7 separate regions of the Homo sapiens genome follow, and regions 1, 2, 3, 4, 5 and 7 are each linked to region 6. The links are contacts of gene promoters, found by promoter capture Hi-C in blood cells and fetal thymus (Javierre and others, 2016). All regions are on one chromosome and are shown on one strand. The core of a region is centred on a gene start or on the middle of the fragment in contact, and the rest is flanking DNA. Distances in the headings are between cores, read along the strand shown. Region 1 overlaps FGB (fibrinogen beta chain). Region 2 overlaps PLRG1 (pleiotropic regulator 1). Region 3 overlaps LOC124900169 (a long non-coding RNA gene). Region 4 overlaps FGG (fibrinogen gamma chain). Region 5 has its middle 2.4 kb from the start of PLRG1. Region 6 holds the start of MAP9-AS1 (MAP9 antisense RNA 1). Region 7 holds the start of FGA (fibrinogen alpha chain).

The links. Contacts are between HindIII fragments. The CHiCAGO score rates a contact against its expected background, and 5 or more counts as called.
Region 1: a fragment that was not itself captured here is called in contact with the fragment with the promoter of MAP9-AS1 in region 6 in 6 of 17 cell types (total CD8 T cells, total CD4 T cells, total B cells and 3 more); the score reaches 11.4 in total CD8 T cells.
Region 2: a contact is called between a fragment that was not itself captured here and the fragment with the promoter of MAP9-AS1 in region 6, in 4 of 17 cell types (total CD8 T cells, naive CD4 T cells, total CD4 T cells and 1 more). The highest score is 7.1, in total CD8 T cells.
Region 3: a contact is called between a fragment that was not itself captured here and the fragment with the promoter of MAP9-AS1 in region 6, in 2 of 17 cell types (naive CD4 T cells and total B cells). The highest score is 5.8, in naive CD4 T cells.
Region 4: a contact is called between a fragment that was not itself captured here and the fragment with the promoter of MAP9-AS1 in region 6, in 3 of 17 cell types (total B cells, naive B cells and naive CD8 T cells). The highest score is 6.1, in total B cells.
Region 5: a contact is called between a fragment that was not itself captured here and the fragment with the promoter of MAP9-AS1 in region 6, in 13 of 17 cell types (total CD8 T cells, total CD4 T cells, naive CD8 T cells and 10 more). The highest score is 32.3, in total CD8 T cells.
Region 7: a contact is called between the fragment with the promoter of FGA here and the fragment with the promoter of MAP9-AS1 in region 6, in 8 of 17 cell types (naive CD8 T cells, activated CD4 T cells, total CD8 T cells and 5 more). The highest score is 9.9, in naive CD8 T cells.

The regions. Positions count from the first base shown.
Region 1 is chr4:154,571,303-154,574,371 of GRCh38, reverse strand. It overlaps FGB (fibrinogen beta chain), which reads right to left. Exons shown (of 8, transcript NM_005141.5): 8 at 1,565-3,069. Among named protein-coding and RNA genes, the nearest start is that of FGB, 9.8 kb to the right of the region's middle. The HindIII fragment of the contact is 2,516 bases long and covers 1-2,510 here.
Region 2 is chr4:154,534,307-154,537,221 of GRCh38, reverse strand. PLRG1 (pleiotropic regulator 1) reads left to right here. Exons shown (of 15, transcript NM_002669.4): 15 at 478-2,217. The coding sequence ends at 537. Among named protein-coding and RNA genes, the nearest start is that of PLRG1, 15 kb to the left of the region's middle. The HindIII fragment of the contact is 1,761 bases long and covers 596-2,356 here.
Region 3 is chr4:154,636,559-154,639,904 of GRCh38, reverse strand. The region is part of intron 2 of LOC124900169 (a long non-coding RNA gene); the gene reads right to left. Among named protein-coding and RNA genes, the nearest start is that of FGG, 26 kb to the right of the region's middle. The HindIII fragment of the contact is 402 bases long and covers 1,496-1,897 here.
Region 4 is chr4:154,609,375-154,612,282 of GRCh38, reverse strand. It overlaps FGG (fibrinogen gamma chain), which reads left to right. Exons shown (of 9, transcript NM_021870.3): 3 at 82-265; 4 at 385-478; 5 at 2,086-2,216; 6 at 2,520-2,653. Among named protein-coding and RNA genes, the nearest start is that of FGG, 1.8 kb to the left of the region's middle. The HindIII fragment of the contact is 537 bases long and covers 1,040-1,576 here.
Region 5 is chr4:154,551,346-154,554,294 of GRCh38, reverse strand. No RefSeq gene overlaps it. Among named protein-coding and RNA genes, the nearest start is that of PLRG1, 2.4 kb to the right of the region's middle. RefSeq lists an enhancer at 1,884-2,178. The HindIII fragment of the contact is 277 bases long and covers 1,368-1,644 here.
Region 6 is chr4:155,352,953-155,356,273 of GRCh38, reverse strand. MAP9-AS1 (MAP9 antisense RNA 1) reads right to left here and starts at 2,058. Exons shown (of 3, transcript NR_125937.1): 1 at 1,901-2,058. MAP9 (microtubule associated protein 9) reads left to right here. Exons shown (of 14, transcript NM_001039580.2): 9 at 390-558; 10 at 1,114-1,203; 11 at 2,934-3,095; 12 at 3,217-3,321. The HindIII fragment of the contact is 4,107 bases long and covers 1-3,321 here.
Region 7 is chr4:154,589,492-154,591,991 of GRCh38, reverse strand. FGA (fibrinogen alpha chain) reads left to right here and starts at 1,250. Exons shown (of 5, transcript NM_021871.4): 1 at 1,250-1,358; 2 at 2,430-2,500. The coding sequence starts at 1,305. The HindIII fragment of the contact is 3,315 bases long and covers 1-2,290 here.

The DNA.
Region 1 (3,069 bases), core at 3-2,502, 780 kb after region 6:
CCAAGTGCATACATCCATTATAGTTTGTTGCAGACTTTCAGTCCTAATTGTATAATTATATATACATATATATAATTATATATGTGTATATATATATATGTATATATATATATAAATAAAATAGTTCTCATACCACAGTGTGGGATTAAAAACTTTCAACTAATCTTTCTATTATCATCTTAAAATCATGAGTTATACAATCTTGTTGTTACTGTTTTATATATTCTAAATAGGGGAAGCTACCTTTTTTATTATATTCAAAATTGTGCATGGGCAAAATCAGACACATAACATTTCTTACCAAATGACACCTTAAGAAAGTGCATTTCTTTTTTCGTTACTGTATTTTCGTTTGTTTTTACAAGTTTTATAGTAGAGCCAGGGTCTCACTATGTTGCCAAGCTGGCCTCTAACTCCTGGTCTGAAGCAATCTTCCCACCTCATCCCAGCAAAGTGCTGGGTTTGCAGATGGGAGCCACTGTGCCCAGCCAAGAAAGTGCATTTCTTTCTAGATAGACTTACATATTACCTGGGAGTGGTCTCTGTGTTTTTTCTATTTGTACATTAACTAAGAATTGACCATCAGATTATCTACTTTAGTGGTTTTTCTTCTATGGCATTACTTCAAGCTCTAGGGATTCATTTGATCCTCTGTGAACACGTAAGGAGTGAGCAAAGGTCTGATGACTGCAGTCTTCCCAACCCGCATTTTTCATTCAGTGAACTTTTGCGACTCTCAGTATTGCCCCAAAAGTTCCATATTCAAGAACTTTGCATGTTGAGTTTCTGTTTGTGGCTTTATTGGAAAATGGGTTCTACATTTAAAAAGAGGATGTTCGAGACTTTGAAAATCACTGGATTTAGCCATCCAGCATTCACAAATGCATGAAAATTAGCCATTCTGACAGGCTGATGTTTCTGGAATCAAAGCTGGATAAGCCTCAGGCATTCATTGTCAAAAAGTAATAAAATTTGCCCAAAGGTTTTAGAAAGTCTTCTCTGGGCGGTGACAGTTAAAGTGAGGTTTAAAAACAAATAGCAGTTTGTCAGATGGTGTTGGGAGGAAGACATTGCTGCAATGAGGGCATCATATAAAAGGACCTGAACATTGTGAATAATGTTGCAATGACCACAGATGCACAAATATTGCTTCCAGATCCTGATATCAGTTCTTTTGGATATATGCCTAAAAGTGAGATTGCTGGATCATATGATAATCAGAATTTTTTAAAAAATTTTTTAGGGGCCTCCACATTTCTTCCCATGGTAGCTGCACCGTTTTACATCCCCACAACAGTGCGAAAGGATACTGTGTGATTTCACTTATATGAGGTATCTGAAACAGTCAAAGTGGAAAATAGAATGGTAGTTGCCAGGGGATGGGAGGTAGGGGGAAATGGAGATAAAATTTCATTTTTAGTAGATGAATATGTTCTAGAGATCTACTGTACAACATAATGCCTAAAATTAATAATACAGTATTGTGCACTTAAAAATTTGTTGATAATATTTCATATTAAATGTTCTTACCATGAAAAACTAAAATAAATGAACACAAGGAAACTTTTGGAGGTGATGGATATATTTAATATCTTGACTGTGCCAGTGATATCATGGGTGTATGCATATTTCCAAAATCATGAAATCGTATATGTTAAACACTTTGTATGACAGATGCATCCGACAGCATTAACTCAAGCATACCCTGAGAATGACTGTATGGTCTAAGAAGAATATGTGTTCAGAGTCTAAGCTAAGGAATCCGGGAATGGCCAACCCAGAGAGATTCACTTCTTATCTGTGAAGGACACTTGAACTCCCTGCCTGTCCGTTGGAACTCAGGATGTGCAAGGAACCAAGGCCTTTTATTTTGGGTTAAATGGAGGTTGCTAAGTGGAGAGTGCTAAGTAGAAATGTTATATAAACTACATACTCTTTACAAATAGTAGCGGTCCTGTCCAGCCCACTGCCACTGGACCACATCTGTATTTAAGTCCTAAATAAACCCTATGTCCCATTCACTGGCTCTGGGTCTCTTCTTGGACAAGGCGCCATCCCTGTTGGAATCAATAGGGCTCCAGCATGACACATGTGCAGGATTTTTTAAATTATATCAATTATATCTCAATAAAGCTGTTGAAATTTTTAAAGGGCCTGACCTGTCCTGGAATGGGGAAAAACTTAATGTGACAAAAATGTAGGTTATAGTGAAGGGAACAGGAAATGGTACTGGGACCATTTTTACTCCAGCTAAAAAATTTGAATTTAAGAAATTTGGATATAGATAGGAAGGAGCTAATGTTAAGCAGGAAGTAAGTTGATAAGAGTTTTCTGTTAAATGTGATGGCAAAGCGGTAGGTGAGTATGGGCTCCAGTGGGACAGAACTTGTGGCAGAGAAACCAGGTCAAAAGTTAAAGTTGGATTTGGTGAGTAATTAAAGAGAGTAGTAGCATTTCCAAGACAGAAATTAATGAGCTTTGCTTACATGAAAAGATTAAGAGGATAAGCTTAAGAACAATAAGTACCATAAAAATGGGTGGCAATGATGATACATTAGGGGTGGAGGACCTAGGGTCATAAGGTTGCCCGTGGCGACTTGGAGTGAAGTGTTGAGATGATATGCCCATTTCATGGGGAGAAGTAGAAAGAACAGAAAAACCACTTTTACTTTAGTTCTGGTGTAACTATGAAGAAAAAAAAGCCTAATTGAGGACAAGAATAGACCTCGTTTCTATGGGCAACAGGCATATTCTGCTCCCTATTTCATTATTTCGCTTAAAAAACACTTGGTGAAGACTTGATGCAGATTGTCCTCTTGGAATCTCTGATCCTGATGTTTATTTAAGTGGCAGAGTGGTGGCTTTTCCATGGTATATAGTCAGATTCTTTTTTTTTTTTTTTTGAGGTGGAGTCTCACGCTGTTGCCCAGGCTGGAGTGCAGTGTTGAGATCTTGGCTCAATGCAATCTCCACCTCACAGGTAGCTGGGACTACAGGCACCTGCCACCACGCCTGGCTAATTTTTGTATTTTTAGTAGAGATGGGGTTTCACCATATTGGTCAGGCTGG
Region 2 (2,915 bases), core at 227-2,726, 820 kb after region 6:
TTAATTATCAGAAGGAAAAATAATCTTTATAGTATTTAAGATATCTGTCTTCTTGAATAGTGTCCATTTATATATTTCTATATTGTTTCACTGATGCCAGTGAATCCATGGATGGCTTTAATTTTATCCCAACTTCCTTTGTTATAGTTGCTGGGAAATGTTGCACCAAGAATAACAGCAAATAAATAGATTGCTATGTAAATTAATTCGAGAATCATAAGCTTTGGTGTTAGTAGAATATCCAAGTAGAAATGTTATTTTAGATGGAAAACTACAAACTAAACATAATGAATCCATCCATCTGTTATTAGACTTGGATAATGCCAGAAGTTTATCAACTCTTCCTAAAACTGTCAAAGAACTAAGTGTATAAAGCCAATGAATAATGTTAGATACCTTATTTTTGTTAGAAAGGAAGCCTATTAGACATGAAGCAAACTAATAATACTTTATTTTAACTCACTTTTCTATTTTTAGACAGAAGAAACTCATCCAGTCAGCTGGAAACCAGAAATTATCAAGAGAAAGAGATTTTAATGAATGTGGAATTTTTTCTCTCTCTTTTTTTTTCTTTTTAATTAAAAAAAAAAAAGCTTGGCGTTCATGAGGATATCCAGTCATTTTGTGCTCTGGCTGGGAATATAAAGGAGAAATTCACTTGCTTCAATCATTGCTGCTTCATATTTTACAATAAACTGTCCCCTGTCCCCTACCCCTGTGTTTTTATTTCTAAAACAATTTGTGATACTAGGAAGATGCAGATATCAAGTAAATGCAGGTTTATTGAACATAACTATTCTAGATGTAATATTTTGACAGTCTTATTAGAAAACCCCCTTTTTTAAAAAAAATGTATGAAACCGATAATTAGGACATTTGAAGGAGCAGTAGTTTTTTTTTAGTCCTTTAAAAAATAACATCTGTGACTAATAATTTGAGATTAAAAGATTTGAAGTCTTAATTTATGTATGTTTATTCCAAAAACAGTTTTTGAGTGTATGTTCTACAAAGTTCTGCACTAGATACTGTTCAGGAAATAGACAAGTAAGATGTGTCTATCCTCTAAGACTTCCAGTTTGGTAGCTTAGTATAGAAATTCTGTAACAGAGGTGCAGGTGAAATGCTGGGGGAACAGAAGGGATAAGACCATTTATTTTTCTCAGGAAGGATTGTGGAAGACTTCATAGAGTAAGTGGCATTGGAGATTACCTTGAAGTGAAGGAAGACAAAGAAGGAAAAGAGATGAGGCATAAAGTGATGAAACCAGGCACAAGAAAGTGTGCGGTGTGTTCTGGGACAAAGAATGTTCTGCTACTGTCGAATAATGGGACTAAAGCTGGCTTGTTCTGGGGAAAGCTCATATAAGTATGGATTTTATTCCTCAACTAGTAGGATACCAATACTGGTATTGAAACTTGGGGAAAATAACTGGAGATACCAGTGCAGCTATTTAAAGCTGTAGCAAGGGCTGCAATCTTGCGGAGATTTTAAAGAGAAGTTTTAAAGTTTCTAATACTGATGCCTCTTTTTGGTAAATACAAGTTTTATAAATCCTGCCCTGGGATCCTGATTCCCCATTAATCAAGATTTGTCAGACTTCACCTTCTATAATTAGAAAACACAGTTATAAGAACAGTCAATTTTTTAAATTTTCCAAATTAAAAAATTGCACCATGATTTTGAACAAGCACTTCCAATTACATTACCCATCTTGTATGCCATAGGTGGGAGTATAATTGTCACAGCCTTTAGGAATGTAGTTTTCTGGGATTTATTGAAACTTTGAACCTTTTGGCCTACTAAGTTCATTCCTAGGAAACTGCCTAATGGGAATGATCTGACAAGTGTACACAAGCAAAGTCATTGCACCTTTGTTCTTTAATACTTAAAACTAGCCCAAATGCCCTGTCAGTAAGGGACTGGTTTAATAGATGGTACCTTTATGCAATTTGTTTCTAAGTATTCGTTAAGAGAGTGAGGAATGTCTGGATTATTAGGGCAAGATTTCTAAACTTGGGTAAAAAAAAAAGTTGTGCAAGCATTTTTGTGGACAACTTGATGCTCTAAAATATAAGTAACACCACATTACTAACAGTGGCTTTGTTAGGAAGCAGAATTATGGAAGAACTTTCATGGGTGGCTTTACATATTTCTATAATGTTTTAATTTTCTATAAGCATGTATTTCGTAAACTTAAATAAAGAAAAAAGAACACTACACTTGCATTCCTGAGAGATTCTGATATGCCTTCTAACAAGAAAAATCAGAGGTGGATGCTGTTCCATCTCTAAAGGCCAAGAAGAAATTACTAGTACAAGGAGATGAGAAAGCCCCTACCGACCTGTCTGGCAAAGCTTCAACTATTGTGTTCAAGTTAGGTATACGTATCAAATTCTGAAAAGCATTAAAAAAAAATCTCTTTCCCTGCTCCATGCTGCCCTGTATTACAGTGTTCTTGAATCCTCTGTTGCATTAATTCATATACCATAATGTGTTTGTGAACCCTATGAAAGATGCAGAATTTCATGCATGTGCCCTTTTACTTACCTGACAGACATCCAACCAGGGTTAAGCTCAAATCTTTTCCACTGCCCATTCCGTACAGCTTGAGTGTAGTCAAGCTATAAAATGTTACCAAAGAAAAACAGCTCCACTGACTGGACTCATTCTTGGTCTATAACCACATATCTCAAGTGGGCCATCAATAATGACCAAATACACATTTCCATAGTTAATGCCTTCTGCCTGCTGTTACAGAGGATGAGCAATCTGCCTCACAACAATTCCCTCTGTGCAGTTGTTGCCATACACTCTTGCCCACTCAAGGACCTTGCTCCCATGATTAAACTCTTTCTCTCCTGTACCATGAATTTCTTCCCTCTGCCCTAAATGAGTGTCATCAACAAATAGGTTGC
Region 3 (3,346 bases), core at 447-2,946, 720 kb after region 6:
AGACAGGCCATATGGAATACAATAGAGAAACGAAAGTCAGAGATTAAAAATTCCTGATATTGTATACTAAGCAGGACTTTAATGATCACCTAATCCAGTAGTCCTTAACTTTTTAGGATGCATTATCACTTTGGGGGATCTGATCAAAACTATAGACCTTCTCCCTAGAGGGAAAACCCCCTTTTTTTTTAGCTTATAATTTCAGACATCTCAGAATCTCTGAAGCTCATCCTTGGACATCAATTTAAGAAACTTCATTTATAGATGAAGCAATTAAGGAGAGGAGAGACGAGTGATTCAACCAGGGTCATGCAGCTTGTTAGTGACAGAGGCAAGATGGAAACCCTGCTTTTCCTGCTCCTTGTCTGCTGTCATCTGCTGCATCAAGCTCTATATGGACTTAAATGTTCTACTAAACCACTTCTATCAACTGGCCAAAGAATGGTTACTAAGTGTCTATAATTAGAATTTATACCCACTAGTACTCTTTCTAATCAAATACAAAATCTTTTTCTCTGTGTGCATTCTCCTAAACCTATTCAGGTCCATGTGAACTCACTCTATCCTCCTAGCCTCCTCCCCCAGCACCACTACTTTCTTAAAACTCCCTCCTTCCAGGGTTCCTGTGATCATCCAGATTCTTCCCACTTCTTCCAGGGTTCACCTCCCTCCCCTCATGTGTGTGTGTGTTTTTAAGAGACAAAGTCTTGCTCTGTTACCCAGGCTGGAGTGCAGTGATGCAATCCTAGCTCAATGAAGCCTCAAACTCCTGGACTCAAGCGATCCTCCCGCCTCAGCCTCTCTAGCAGCTGGGACTATAGGCATGCACCATGGTTCCAGCTAAGTTTTGCATTTTTGGTAGAGAAGGTGTCTTGCTATGTTGCCCAGGCTAGTCTTGAACTCCTAGGCTCAAGCAATCAGCCTGCCTCCAACCCGCAAAGTGTTGGGATTACAGGCACGAGCCACCGCACCTGGTATCCTCTCCCATTTGTTATCTCCTTAGCTGCTACCATTTCTCCTCTCTCCAGGGGTTCCCTAAAGCTCAATCCTACTCTCCTTTATATCCATTCTCAACCTTCTTACTGTTACTTCTATTGAATAGAACTCCTGTGAAAATTGTCAGTACCCAAAACGGAGTCACTTATGTCAAACCCTAACAAAATGCAGTGGGAGGCCATGAAGGAAGGGCCCTCACACATGTGTGCCTGCACCAGGAACTGCCAGAAATGACTTCCTCAACTGGAAATTTCCAGTTAAGCCACTTCTATGAAAACTCTCTCCTACCAACAGCCAGTACCACCAATGAGCAAATGCCACTGCATGTAAAAAGACCTGTAGCCAGTGGTCTTTATTTCAAAACAGGTACATGGATATCTTTTTGCCTTTAAAAGCTTCCTTTTTTTCCCAACTCCCTCGGATACCCTTATGGTCCTCCATAGCAGGCATGTATTATGTATTATGTTGATTGCAGTTCCTTGCTATTCCCTAATAAGCTTGAGAATTAATCCCTGTTGCTCAATTTAGGTTGACACCATTCTCACCCTGTTTACAGAAATACTTCCCAATAATAGTTTCAACAGGTACCTTTATTGAATATAATTTCCTCCCCCTAACCTGTTCCTATTTCCACCCTCTCATCTATGAGGCACTGGTGACTTGAACACTGCTTGTGCCCTGTGATGTCCAGCTCTATATTTGGCACATACATACATAGCAAGAGCAGTATAAATGTGGATTAACTGACATGTGAGGGTTTCCTCACATCTCAGTGAAGATAGTATACAAATAGAAAAAAAAAAGTGAAAGATAGTATACAAATAGAAAATTTAGCAACAATTCTGGTGATTTTATAAGAAGTTTTGCAAATTTGACAAAATTTACTTTTTCAAATGAAGCTTTGCTTTCTTTTTTTGCAAGATAGTATAACTAGTTTTATTCTTTTTTCTGGGCAATTGACTTCTTAAAAGAAGATATACCTCCCCCTCCTGGATGATAACGGTATTTTAAAGACAGCCCTTCCAACTCTATGGTGCATTCTGAAATGTGTCATTAATAAAACTAAGTCGTACATAGCAACAACATCCAGACTGTTAATTATTCAAAGCTCCTCATGTAGATCTAAAACAACAGCACGTTCTAAGGAATTGATCCTTCTTAAGCAGAAGTACATTTTCAGTACTTCAAAAGGAGATATTCAGTAACACCATATGATATTCAGTACTCAATTACAAAAGACTTTCTTCATTAGCTCAATAAATCAAACCACTGTGATAATGAGGCCAGAGTCCTGGATTTGGTTCTAGTTTGGGAAGCTGCTTTGATTGGTTTCATAGCCTCAAGTTTCACACTAACTCCCGGGAGTCATCATAAAATGATTCGTCCTGAGTCACAGGATATCCAGAGTGCCAGAGAGCAAACAGTTCAGTTCTAACTTTCTCCAACTGGAAATCATCCCCCAAAATGCTGGGGCATTAAAAGTGGCTTTGTATTTCTAAAAATTCTTTCACATAATGGCAACCGCCTTCTTTCCTCAGAACCACAAGGCAACTAACAAAGCCCTTTTTTTTGAGACGGAGTCTCGCTGTGTCACCCAGGCTGGAGTGCAGTGGCGCGATCTTGGCTCACTGCAAGCTCCGCCTCCCGGGTTCCCGCCATTCTCCTGCCTCAGCCTCCCAAGTAGCTGGGACTAGAGGCCCCCGCCACCATGCCCAGCTAATTTTTTTTTTTTTTTTTTTGTATTTTTAGTAGAGACGGGGTTTCATCGTGGTAGCCAGGATGGTCTCGATCTCCTGACCTCATGATCCGCCCGCCTCAGCCTCCCAAAGTGCTGGGATTACAGGCGTGAGCCACCGCACCTGGCCAATAAAGCCCTTTTTTAAAAAAAAATTTTACTTTAAGCTCCAGGATCCATGTGCAGAACATGCAGGTTTGTCACATAGGTATACCTGTGCCATGGTGGTTTGCTGCACCTATTGACACGACCTCTAAGTTCCCTCTCCTTTTCCCCTACCCCACAACAGGCCCTGGTGTGTGTTGTTCCCCTCCGTGTCCATGTGTTCTCATTGTTCAACTCCCACCTATGAGCGAGAACATGCAGTGTTTGGTTTTCTGTTCCTGTGTTAGTTTGCTGAGGATGATGCCTTCGAGCTTCATCCATGTCCCCACAAAGGACATGAACTCATTCTTTTTTATGGCTGCATAGTATTCCATGGTATATACATACCACGTTTTCTTTATCCAGTCTATTATTGATGGGCATTTGGGTTGGTTCCATGACTTTGCCATTGTAAACAGTGCTGCAATAAACATATGTGTGCATGTGTCTATTAAAGGCCTTTTAAAGGTT
Region 4 (2,908 bases), core at 59-2,558, 740 kb after region 6:
TAGTCTAGGTTTTACCTATTTTTCTTAATAGATTTTAAGAGTAGCATCTGTCTACATTTTTAATCACTGTTATATTTTCAGGGTAGTTATTGTCCAACTACCTGTGGCATTGCAGATTTCCTGTCTACTTATCAAACCAAAGTAGACAAGGATCTACAGTCTTTGGAAGACATCTTACATCAAGTTGAAAACAAAACATCAGAAGTCAAACAGCTGATAAAAGCAATCCAACTCACTTATAATCCTGATGAATCATCAAAACCAAGTGAGAAAATAAAGACTACTGACCAAAAAATAATAATAATAATCTGTGAAGTTCTTTTGCTGTTGTTTTAGTTGTTCTATTTGCTTAAGGATTTTTATGTCTCTGATCCTATATTACAGATATGATAGACGCTGCTACTTTGAAGTCCAGGAAAATGTTAGAAGAAATTATGAAATATGAAGCATCGATTTTAACACATGACTCAAGTATTCGGTAAGGATTTTTGTTTTAATTTGCTCTGCAAGACTGATTTAGTTTTTATTTAATATTCTATACTTGAGTGAAAGTAATTTTTAATGTGTTTTCCCCATTTATAATATCCCAGTGACATTATGCCTGATTATGTTGAGCATAGTAGAGATAGAAGTTTTTAGTGCAATATAAATTATACTGGGTTATAATTGCTTATTAATAATCACATTGAAGAAAGATGTTCTAGATGTCTTCAAATGCTAGTTTGACCATATTTATCAAAAATTTTTTCCCCATCCCCCATTTATCTTACAACATAAAATCAATCTCATAGGAATTTGGGTGTTGAAAATAAAATCCTCTTTATAAAAATGCTGACAAATTGGTGGTTAAAAAAATTAGCAAGCAGAGGCATAGTAAGGATTTTGGCTCCTAAAGTAAATTATATTGAATGTGGAGCAGGAAGAAACATGTCTTGAGAGACTAAGTGTGGCAAATATTGCAAAGCTCATATTGATCATTGCAGAATGAACCTGCATAGTCTCTTCCCTTCATTTGGAAGTGAATGTCTCTGTTAAAGCTTCTCAGGGACTCATAAACTTTCTGAACATAAGGTCTCAGATACAGTTTTAATATTTTTCCCCAATTTTTTTTTCTGAATTTTTCTCAAAGCAGCTTGAGAAATTGAGATAAATAGTAGCTAGGGAGAAGTGGCCCAGGAAAGATTTCTCCTCTTTTTGCTATCAGAGGGCCCTTGTTATTATTGTTATTATTATTACTTGCATTATTATTGTCCATCATTGAAGTTGAAGGAGGTTATTGTACAGAAATTGCCTAAGACAAGGTAGAGGGAAAACGTGGACAAATAGTTTGTCTACCCTTTTTTACTTCAAAGAAAGAACGGTTTATGCATTGTAGACAGTTTTCTATCATTTTTGGATATTTGCAAGCCACCCTGTAAGTAACTACAAAAGGAGGGTTTTTACTTCCCCCAGTCCATTCCCAAAGCTATGTAACCAGAAGCATTAAAGAAGAAAGGGGAAGTATCTGTTGTTTTATTTTACATACAATAACGTTCCAGATCATGTCCCTGTGTAAGTTATATTTTAGATTGAAGCTTATATGTATAGCCTCAGTAGATCCACAAGTGAAAGGTATACTCCTTCAGCACATGTGAATTACTGAACTGAGCTTTTCCTGCTTCTAAAGCATCAGGGGGTGTTCCTATTAACCAGTCCCGCCACTCTTGCAGGTTGCTATCTGCTGTCCCTTATGCATAAAGTAAAAAGCAAAATGTCAATGACATTTGCTTATTGACAAGGACTTTGTTATTTGTGTTGGGAGTTGAGACAATATGCCCCATTCTAAGTAAAAAGATTCAGGTCCACATTGTATTCCTGTTTTAATTGATTTTTTGATTTGTTTTTCTTTTTCAAAAAGTTTATAATTTTAATTCATGTTAATTTAGTAATATAATTTTACATTTTCCTCAAGAATGGAATAATTTATCAGAAAGCACTTCTTAAGAAAATACTTAGCAGTTTCCAAAGAAAATATAAAATTACTCTTCTGAAAGGAATACTTATTTTTGTCTTCTTATTTTTGTTATCTTATGTTTCTGTTTGTAGATATTTGCAGGAAATATATAATTCAAATAATCAAAAGATTGTTAACCTGAAAGAGAAGGTAGCCCAGCTTGAAGCACAGTGCCAGGAACCTTGCAAAGACACGGTGCAAATCCATGATATCACTGGGAAAGGTAACTGATGAAGGTTATATTGGGATTAGGTTCATCAAAGTAAGTAATGTAAAGGAGAAAGTATGTACTGGAAAGTATAGGAATAGTTTAGAAAGTGGCTACCCATTAAGTCTAAGAATTTCAGTTGTCTAGACCTTTCTTGAATAGCTAAAAAAAACAGTTTAAAAGGAATGCTGATGTGAAAAGTAAGAAAATTATTCTTGGAAAATGAATAGTTTACTACATGTTAAAAGCTATTTTTCAAGGCTGGCACAGTCTTACCTGCATTTCAAACCACAGTAAAAGTCGATTCTCCTTCTCTAGATTGTCAAGACATTGCCAATAAGGGAGCTAAACAGAGCGGGCTTTACTTTATTAAACCTCTGAAAGCTAACCAGCAATTCTTAGTCTACTGTGAAATCGATGGGTCTGGAAATGGATGGACTGTGTTTCAGAAGGTAATTTTTTCCCCACCATGTGTATTTAATAAATTCCTACATTGTTTCTGCCATATGGCAGATACTTTTCTAAGCACCTTGTGAACCGTAGCTCATTTAATCCTTGCAATAGCCCTAAGAGGAAGGTACTTCTGTTACTCCTATTTACAGAAAAGGAAACTGAGGCACACAAGGTTAAATAACTTGCCCAAGACCACATAACTAATAAGCAACAGAGTCAGCATTTGAACCTAGGCAGTATAGTTTCAGAGTTTG
Region 5 (2,949 bases), core at 257-2,756, 800 kb after region 6:
TTAAAGTCTCGGCTGGGCTCAGTGGTTCACACCTGTAATCCCAGCACTTTGAGAGGCTGAGACAGGTGGATCACCTAAGGTCGGGAGTGCGAGACTAGCCTGGCCAACATGGTAAAACCCCATGTCTACTAAAAATACAAGTAATTAGCCAGGCGTGGTGGTGCACACCTGTATTCCCAGCTACTCCGGAGGCTGAGGCAGGAGAATCATTTGAATCCAGGAGGCAGAGATTGCAGTGAGCTGAGATGGTGCCACTGCACTTCAACCTGGCCGGCAGAGCCAGACTCCGTCTCAAAAAAAATTAAGCTCTCAAAGCCACCTAAACCCATATTTAAGTGTACAATATAATAGCTTACTTATTCATTCATTCAATAAATATTGAAAACTTACCAGTTGCAAGTCAATTAGATTCTGACTGTGTGATAGTAAACATCATGCCATATTCACCCCATAAGTCTACTGGGAAATACAGATATTTAAACAAATATTACAACAAAACATTCAGCTAAGAAAGCTGGAACCAAGACATTGTTATTTCTTCTGTGGCAGTATAAACACCAAAAATATTTCTGTAAAATAAAAACATTTGTAAATGCCTGCAAATATTTGTAAGTACAAATTCTTATTTGTAAAGGTAAACAACAAAAGTCATGATTATGTTCAATATTGTCACTTATTTTGTGATATAGTGTTGTGGGTTGAACTGTGTCCCCCCAAATTCACATTATGAATTCCTAACCCCCAGTATCTAAGAATGTGACCTTATTTGGAAATAGGGTATTTTTGGATGGAATTAGTTAAGATGAAGCCATACTGGAGTAGGGTGGGCCTTTAATTCAATATGATTGATGTTCTTTAAGAAGGAGAAATTTGGCATAGGCATATGCACAGTGAGAACGAAATGTGAAGATGAAGGCAGACATGACAGTGATGCAGCAGAAGACAAGAAACGGCAAAGACTGCCAGAGAACTACTGGAAGTTAGGGGAGAGGCATAGAACACATTCTCTCTCACAGCCCTTAGAAGGAACCAACTTTGCCAACGCCTTTATTTCAAGCCTCTTGCCTCCAGAACTGTGAGACAATAAACATTTGTTGTCTAAGCCATCCAGTTTGTGGTACTTTGTTACATCAGCCCTAGCAAACTAATACACATGAGATGGGGCTTCATGTAGTAGAGGATGGTGAAATTGTGATAAGTAAGACCCGAGGACTCTCTCTCTCTCTCTCACACACACACATACACCTTGCTAAGATATTTATAACTGACAGTTTATAACTGATAGTACAATCTAATTATTCCCAAAGTCTTTCCAGGCATTAACAGGAAGAACAGCCCCTTCACTGTTCCTTATAGTCCCAGAAGCTTGTTTCAACTATGCTACAAGAAAGTATCTGCTAACACTACCTTAGTATTTAGGCAAATTCATAGCATTGTGCTAAACAATTAAAGACCAAAGTTTTGGAAGAAATGTCCAAGTATCATTTTTCACAGGTTTTGACCTCAGAAATTCAAATAAACAGTGATAACTCCCATGATTACTTCCTTTTGAATTAACGAACAATTTCAAATATGAAATTTAAGGGATGGACATACTGAGCCACACAACTCTAAAGAACATTGCATATAGTGTTTTTTAAAGCTTGTATATTTAACCCTCTAAGTTGAAACAGAAAAATAAATAGTAATATTTATTATTTTATAAGAATCAGAAAACACTTCCTATAAAAATATCATAAAAAGCTGATGAAAATGGCACTCAAATCTATACTCATATGACCTATCACTGTTCAAGAGCAAAGGACAATATTTGAAGGAGAATAAAAAGAGTTTCTGTATTGGTGAGTTTAAAAAATCTTGCCTAAAGAAGGAGGGCTTTCCTTAAAACTTGTATTCTTGGTTTTACACAGACATAATACTAATAATTTATATTAATAAGTTACTTGCCGTGTCTGCTTTAAGGACAGCCCTGAGGGCCCGTACAAAGAGCAGTGGTGACACCTGCTGTTCAAATAAGGCAGCTTCGGGTGTCAGCCAGGCCATGTGTGTATGACGGAGCCTTTCAGGAATCCAATTAAACTTGTGGATCCTTTCTCCAGAAAATAAAACATATTCCCATATAAATACAAAATTTTCCTACAATATACATAATTCATGAATCCCTGAACTAAATAATAGGGTCACTTGAGTTCTATATTTATCTAAAATATTGTAAACTTTCAAGGGGATGACATCATTCTATAAATTCACGACAGTGTTTTAAAAGGAGCAAATTCGAGGCAATTTACCTCAATCATTACCATGTTGTTATTGAGAAATTAAATTAATGTCTCCAGGATGATTAAATATGTAAAAAGTTAATAGATCCAACTAGACAATTAATATATTGCCATATATATTAGTCTTGCTTAGGTTTCTATGGTTTTATTGTCATTTCAAATCATGTTATTTTCTATAGTTATTATTAATAGGTGAGTATATTATTTAGTTCATCAAGTATATATTTTACAATTATGGTATTTTCTTGCAAGGAAATACCATCACCTGCCACCTTTACAGAAAAGCAATTCTTAGGCCAAACTCACAGTTAAATTCAGAGATGCTGTATCTTCAAGTAAAAACATGACCTTAAGGCAGGGCTCAGTGGCTCATGCCTGTAATCCTAGCACTTTGGGAGGCCGAGGCGGGCGGATCACCTGAGGTCAGGAGTTCAAGACCAGCCTGGCCAACATGGTGAAACGCTGTCTCTACTAAAAATACAAAAATTAGCCGGGCATGGTGGCGGGCGCCTGTAATCCCAGCTACTCCAGAGGCTGAGGCAGGAGAATAGCTTGAACCTGGGATGCTGAGGTTGCAGTGAGCCAAGATCGCGCCATGGCACTCCAGCCTGGGCGACAAGAGCGAAACTCTGTCTCAAACAAAAACCCATGACCTTAATGTTTTTAATGA
Region 6 (3,321 bases), core at 809-3,308:
TTTTTTTGAGATGGAGTCTCACTCTGTTGCTCAGGCTGGAGTTCAGTGGCATGATCTCTGCTCACTGCAACCTCTGCCTCCTGGGCTCAAGCTATCCTCCCACCTCAGCCTCCAGGGTAGCTATGACTACAGGCATGTGCCACCACGCCAGCTAATTTTTTGTATTTTTGGTAGAGACAGGGTTTCACCATGTTGCCCAGGCTGGTCAACAGCCCAACAGGATGAGCTCAAGTCATCCACCCACTTTGGCCTTCCAAAGTGCTGGGATTACAGGTGTGAGCCATCATGCCTGGCCAGTTTTCAAATATTATACGTGCATATTCTAACAGATCTCTCTTCTACCAAATGCAATTGTAATATTTTGTCTTGATTCATTTGGATCTTTTCAGATTAATGACCTCTGAGTTTTTGAAGAAATCTAGTTCTAAAAGGAGAACTCCATCGACAACTACCTCTTCTCACTATTTAGGGACTTTAAAAGTCTTGGACCAAAAACCTTCACAGAAACAGAGCATAGAACCTGATAGAGCAGATAACATAAGGGCAGCTGTTTATCAGGTAAAAAAGGAAAATATTTTTAAGAGAAGAAGAATGATCACTTTCATAAGCCTACACTGTTTATAAAGAATAAAGTAATCCTGATAGAAAATGATGGTTTAATACTTAAATTTATTGAGAAAGAGTTTCCTTTTAATACATGAGTAATCATATTTTACTAAATTATTTGCTTCCACACTTTGCATAACTGACCATAGTTGTTTTTAAAGAAAGAATATGCCATTGCAATTTATAGAAATACAGCACAAGCCAAAACATTGTAAAGTCTATATATGTTTTCATTTTTTTCTTCTTGAAGTTTATATGAACAAAAGGAGTTATTATGAACAAAAAGTTATTAAATTTTTTCTTTCCTGAGATGTTGTTAGGCGTACATAGGAAAAAGATTGTATTAATTTATTCACAATTCTAAAAGTCTTTTTTTGTCTTTTTTAGAGTAGAATAGTATACTTTAGAAAATTGTACATGTGAATTTCAGAGAAAATGTTAATATAAAGAATTCTAATTCACTTAAGAAATTTTAAATATTATATGACCTTTTTCTTGTTCTTATAGGAGTGGTTAGAAAAGAAAAATGTGTATTTACATGAAATGCACAGAATAAAAAGAATTGAAAGTGAAAACTTAAGGATCCAAAATGAACAGGTATTCTGACATATAGAAGTAAAAATGTTTTGGATTTTTATTTCAGTAAAATATCCCTGAATATATAACTTTTCTAAATCAGCTTTTTAAATGGCAAAATAACTTGTATATTAAAGAAATGATTTCCGGTTTTACTTCTGTTTTACTTTATACATTTTAGTTTGATATAACTGTTTTACATGAAAACAGATTTTAATTTTGTATATGTATAGGATAGCTTTGTTCCTGCTGATTATGAAGTTATTATTGTTTATGAGCACCTAATTCACTTTTAAAAGTTGATTTCATTTAGAACTTAACCAAGAAGGCCAGGTACTGTGGCTCATGCCTGTAATCCCAGCACTTTGGGAGGCCAAGGCAGATGGGATTCCTTGAGGTCTGGAGTTCGACACCAGCCTGGGCAATGTGGTGAAACCCCATCTCTACTAAAAATACAAAAATTAGCCAGGGATGGTGGTGGGCACCTGTAATCCCAGCTACTCAGGAGGCTGAGGTGGCAGGATCACTTGAACCCGGGAGGCGGAGGTTGCAGTTAGCTGAGATCGTGCCACTGTACTCCAGCCTAGGTGACAGAGACTCTGTCTCAAAAAAAAAAAAAAAGGCACGACAAGATAAAGGATCATTAGACACTAGTTAGCCTTCAATTTTCCTCTTTTCTCTCTTGAATTTTATAAGTATCTTCAAGTCCAACCCCTACCTGAACTCTTGATCTGTATCCTTTCCCATTGAATGGAGGTGAACTTTTGTTCCTGTCTCTTCTGTACTGAGTCTCTTCCTCTAACTCCTGCTTGTAATACGCTCAGTTATTTCTTATCTTCTAAAGTCAAACTTCTGGACAAAAACTCCAGTGTGCTGTTCAATACTAAAAATAGATTTAGAAGAAAAATATTTTCCAAGGTGAACTGCACGATAATGCGTCAGTAGTGAAGGGAGCAGCCCTCCAGGGGGCGTGCCTGTCTATCTGTTAACCACGTTCATAGCAGTATGCTGCTGTGGTCAGTGCCATACCCCTTCTCATTTGATTTTCGTAGCTCTGTGAGGTAGATAGTACTTTGACCTCTAAATTATGTTACCCCAATATTAAGGTTTTATGTCATTTAATATTGAACAATAAAGCAAACATAGAATATTATGGGATTAGATTGAAGGAAGTAAAATAATAACATAACTTGCTATACAGTCTCCAACCTATTTTTCAGTCGAGCACATACTTTCAACATTTGGAATACATTTGTGCAGTAAGAACTTTATGTTTTGATACTATTCAAAATTAAGATTTAAACCAAAAATCTGCATCTTACTGCATGGCTTGGCCAATTTGCCTTACTCTAACTTACTTTATAAGCCCATAACTTTACTGATTTTTTTTTCAAATATTTTATTATGAAAATTTTACTATACCACTTAGCCTATTACAGTTTATTTTGATATAATTTGTTTAGTACACTTTCAAAAATAATAGTTGACATCTTTCTCATTAATAGGTCAATATGTGATAAATGTTTTTAGAAAAGGACGTTTTAAAACCAATGAATAATTCAGATAACATTCTTTGTAAATTATCTAAGCCATTCTAAATAAATTACCTACTTTGAAAGTTAATTTCTAAGTATAATGAATATCAGAGGACTAAAGATAAATGTATATGTGTATATTTATATCTAGCCATATTTGTGTCTATGTATATATACATATATATGTATATCACTCTATTATTTTTTCCACTGTAGAAAAAAGCTGCTAAAAGAGAAGAAGCATTAGCATCATTTGAGGCCTGGAAGGCTATGAAAGAAAAGGAAGCAAAGAAAATAGCTGCCAAAAAGAGGCTTGAAGAAAAAAACAAGAAGAAAACTGAAGAAGAAAATGCTGCAAGAAAAGGAGAAGCACTACAAGTATTCAGAACTTTGCACATCTTAATTATTTTAAAACATTTGAAATCCAAATTAATGATTAACCATATTTTTATTTATTTTCAAATATTCACAGTAAGAAAATTATTCTGAACTTTTTCAGGCTTTTGAAAAATGGAAAGAGAAAAAGATGGAATATCTTAAAGAGAAAAATAGAAAGGAGAGAGAATATGAAAGAGCAAAGAAACAGAAAGAGGAGGAAACTGTT
Region 7 (2,500 bases), core at 1-2,500, 760 kb after region 6:
TATTTGTCTTTCTTTTCCGTTTTTTTTTTTTTTTTTGAGAAGGAGTCTCACTCTGTGGCCCAGGCTGGAGTGCAATGATGCAATCTCGGCTCACTGCAACCTCCTCCACCTCCCGCGTTCAAGTGATTCTCCCTGCCTCAGCCTCCTGAGTAGCTGGGATTACAGGTGCCTGTCACCACGACCAGCTAAGCAGTATTTGTCTGTCTATATCTGCTCATTTCACTTAGGATAATGCCCTCTAGGTTCATCAATGTTACTGCAAATGACAGAATTTCCTTCTTTTTCAAGGCTGAGTAATACTCCATTGTGTATATATATATATACACATTTTCTTTATCTACTCATCCATCAGTGGAAACAGGTTGTTTTCATATCTCGGCTATTGTCAATATAGCTACAATGAACATGGGAATGCAGGTGTCTCTTCAAGATCCTGATTTCATTTCCTTTGGAAATACACTCAGAAATGAGATTGCTAGCACAGAAACAGGAAATAAATGGTATTTTTCATGGCACTTTATGATCTCCCATAATTCACTGAGTATTTCCTATGTGACAGTCACTGTTCTGAGAGATTTACAAGAATTAACTCATTTATTCTTCATAAAAGCATGGGGTAGCTTATCAGCATCCTTATTTTATAAATGAGGAAACTGAAGTATAAAGAGGTAAAGTAACTTGTCCAAGAACATAGAGCAGGGAAGTGGTGCAGCTTGGATTATGAACCCAAGATGTTTTGTTCCTGGGGCTGCTGTCATCTTAATATTTTAAATAGAGAAAAGTAATATGTTCTAAATAAACTTATAGAAAGCCTTCAGGGCCAGCTTATCCCCAAAGTTATTTTTTTTATAAGCCAGATCACCCAACCCTAATTTCTGCATAAAGTGAAATATTGTTTGCTAAATCACTACTACTGGGGGCTACAGCTAGCTTACCTAAGCACCTTCTATATTCTTTCACGTTTAGAAATATGGATATACCCTCCTATGCTCCTCTTTTCATTCTCAAAGCCACCCTGTTCCTGGAATGTGAGATCTCCTAATTGTTGACTGGAGAATCAAATGCTACCTTTGCAACAGCTTATCGGAAGCAAACAAGCTGAGGGGAATTGAGCAAGAATTTCTGGGATACCAACAGCATAGGAGGAACAAAGGACGTAGAGGGAGGGTTGACTGTCTACACAGGACAAAGCCAATGATTAACCAAACCTCTTGCAGATTTAAATAGGATGGGAACTAGGAGTGGCAGCAATCCTTTCTTTCAGCTGGAGTGCTCCTCAGGAGCCAGCCCCACCCTTAGAAAAGATGTTTTCCATGAGGATCGTCTGCCTGGTCCTAAGTGTGGTGGGCACAGCATGGGTATGGCCCTTTTCATTTTTTCTTCTTGCTTTCTCTCTGGTGTTTATTCCACAAAGAGCCTGGAGGTCAGAGTCTACCTGCTCTATGTCCTGACACACTCTTAGCTTTATGACCCCAGGCCTGGGAGGAAATTTCCTGGGTGGGCTTGACACCTCAAGAATACAGGGTAATATGACACCAAGAGGAAGATCTTAGATGGATGAGAGTGTACAAACTCACAAGGGAAACTTTAGCATCTGTCATTCAGTCTTACCACATTTTGTTTTGTTTTGTTTTAAAAAGGGCAAGAATTATTTGCCATCCTTGTACCTATAAAGCCTTGGTGCATTATAATGCTAGTTAATGGAATAAAACATTTTATGGTAAGATTTGTTTTCTTTAGTTATTAATTTCTTGCTACTTGTCCATAATAAGCAGAACTTTTAGTGTTAGTACAGTTTTGCTGAAAGGTTATTGTTGTGTTTGTCAAGACAGAAGAAAAAGCAAACGAATTATCTTTGGAAATATCTTTGCAGTATCAGAAGAGATTAGTTAGTAAGGCAATACGCTTTTCCGCAGTAATGGTATTCTTTTAAATTATGAATCCATCTCTAAAGGTTACATAGAAACTTGAAGGAGAGAGGAACATTCAGTTAAGATAGTCTAGGTTTTTCTACTGAAGCAGCAATTACAGGAGAAAGAGCTCTACAGTAGTTTTCAACTTTCTGTCTGCAGTCATTAGTAAAAATGAAAAGGTAAAATTTAACTGATTTTATAGATTCAAATAATTTTCCTTTTAGGATGGATTCTTTAAAACTCCTAATATTTATCAAATGCTTATTTAAGTGTCACACACAGTTAAGAAATTTGTACACCTTGTCTCCTTTAATTCTCATAACAACTCCATAAAATGGGTCCTAGGATTTCCATTTGAAGATAAGAAACCTGAAGCTTGCCGAAGCCCTGTGTCTGCTCTCCTTAATCTCTGTGAGAGTGCCATCTCTTCCTGGGGACTTGTAGGCATGCCACTGTCTCCTCTTCTGGCTAACATTGCTGTTGCTCTCTTTTGTGTATGTGAATGAATCTTTAAAGACTGCAGATAGTGGTGAAGGTGACTTTCTAGCTGAAGGAGGAGGCGTGCGTGGCCCAAGGGTTGTGGAAAG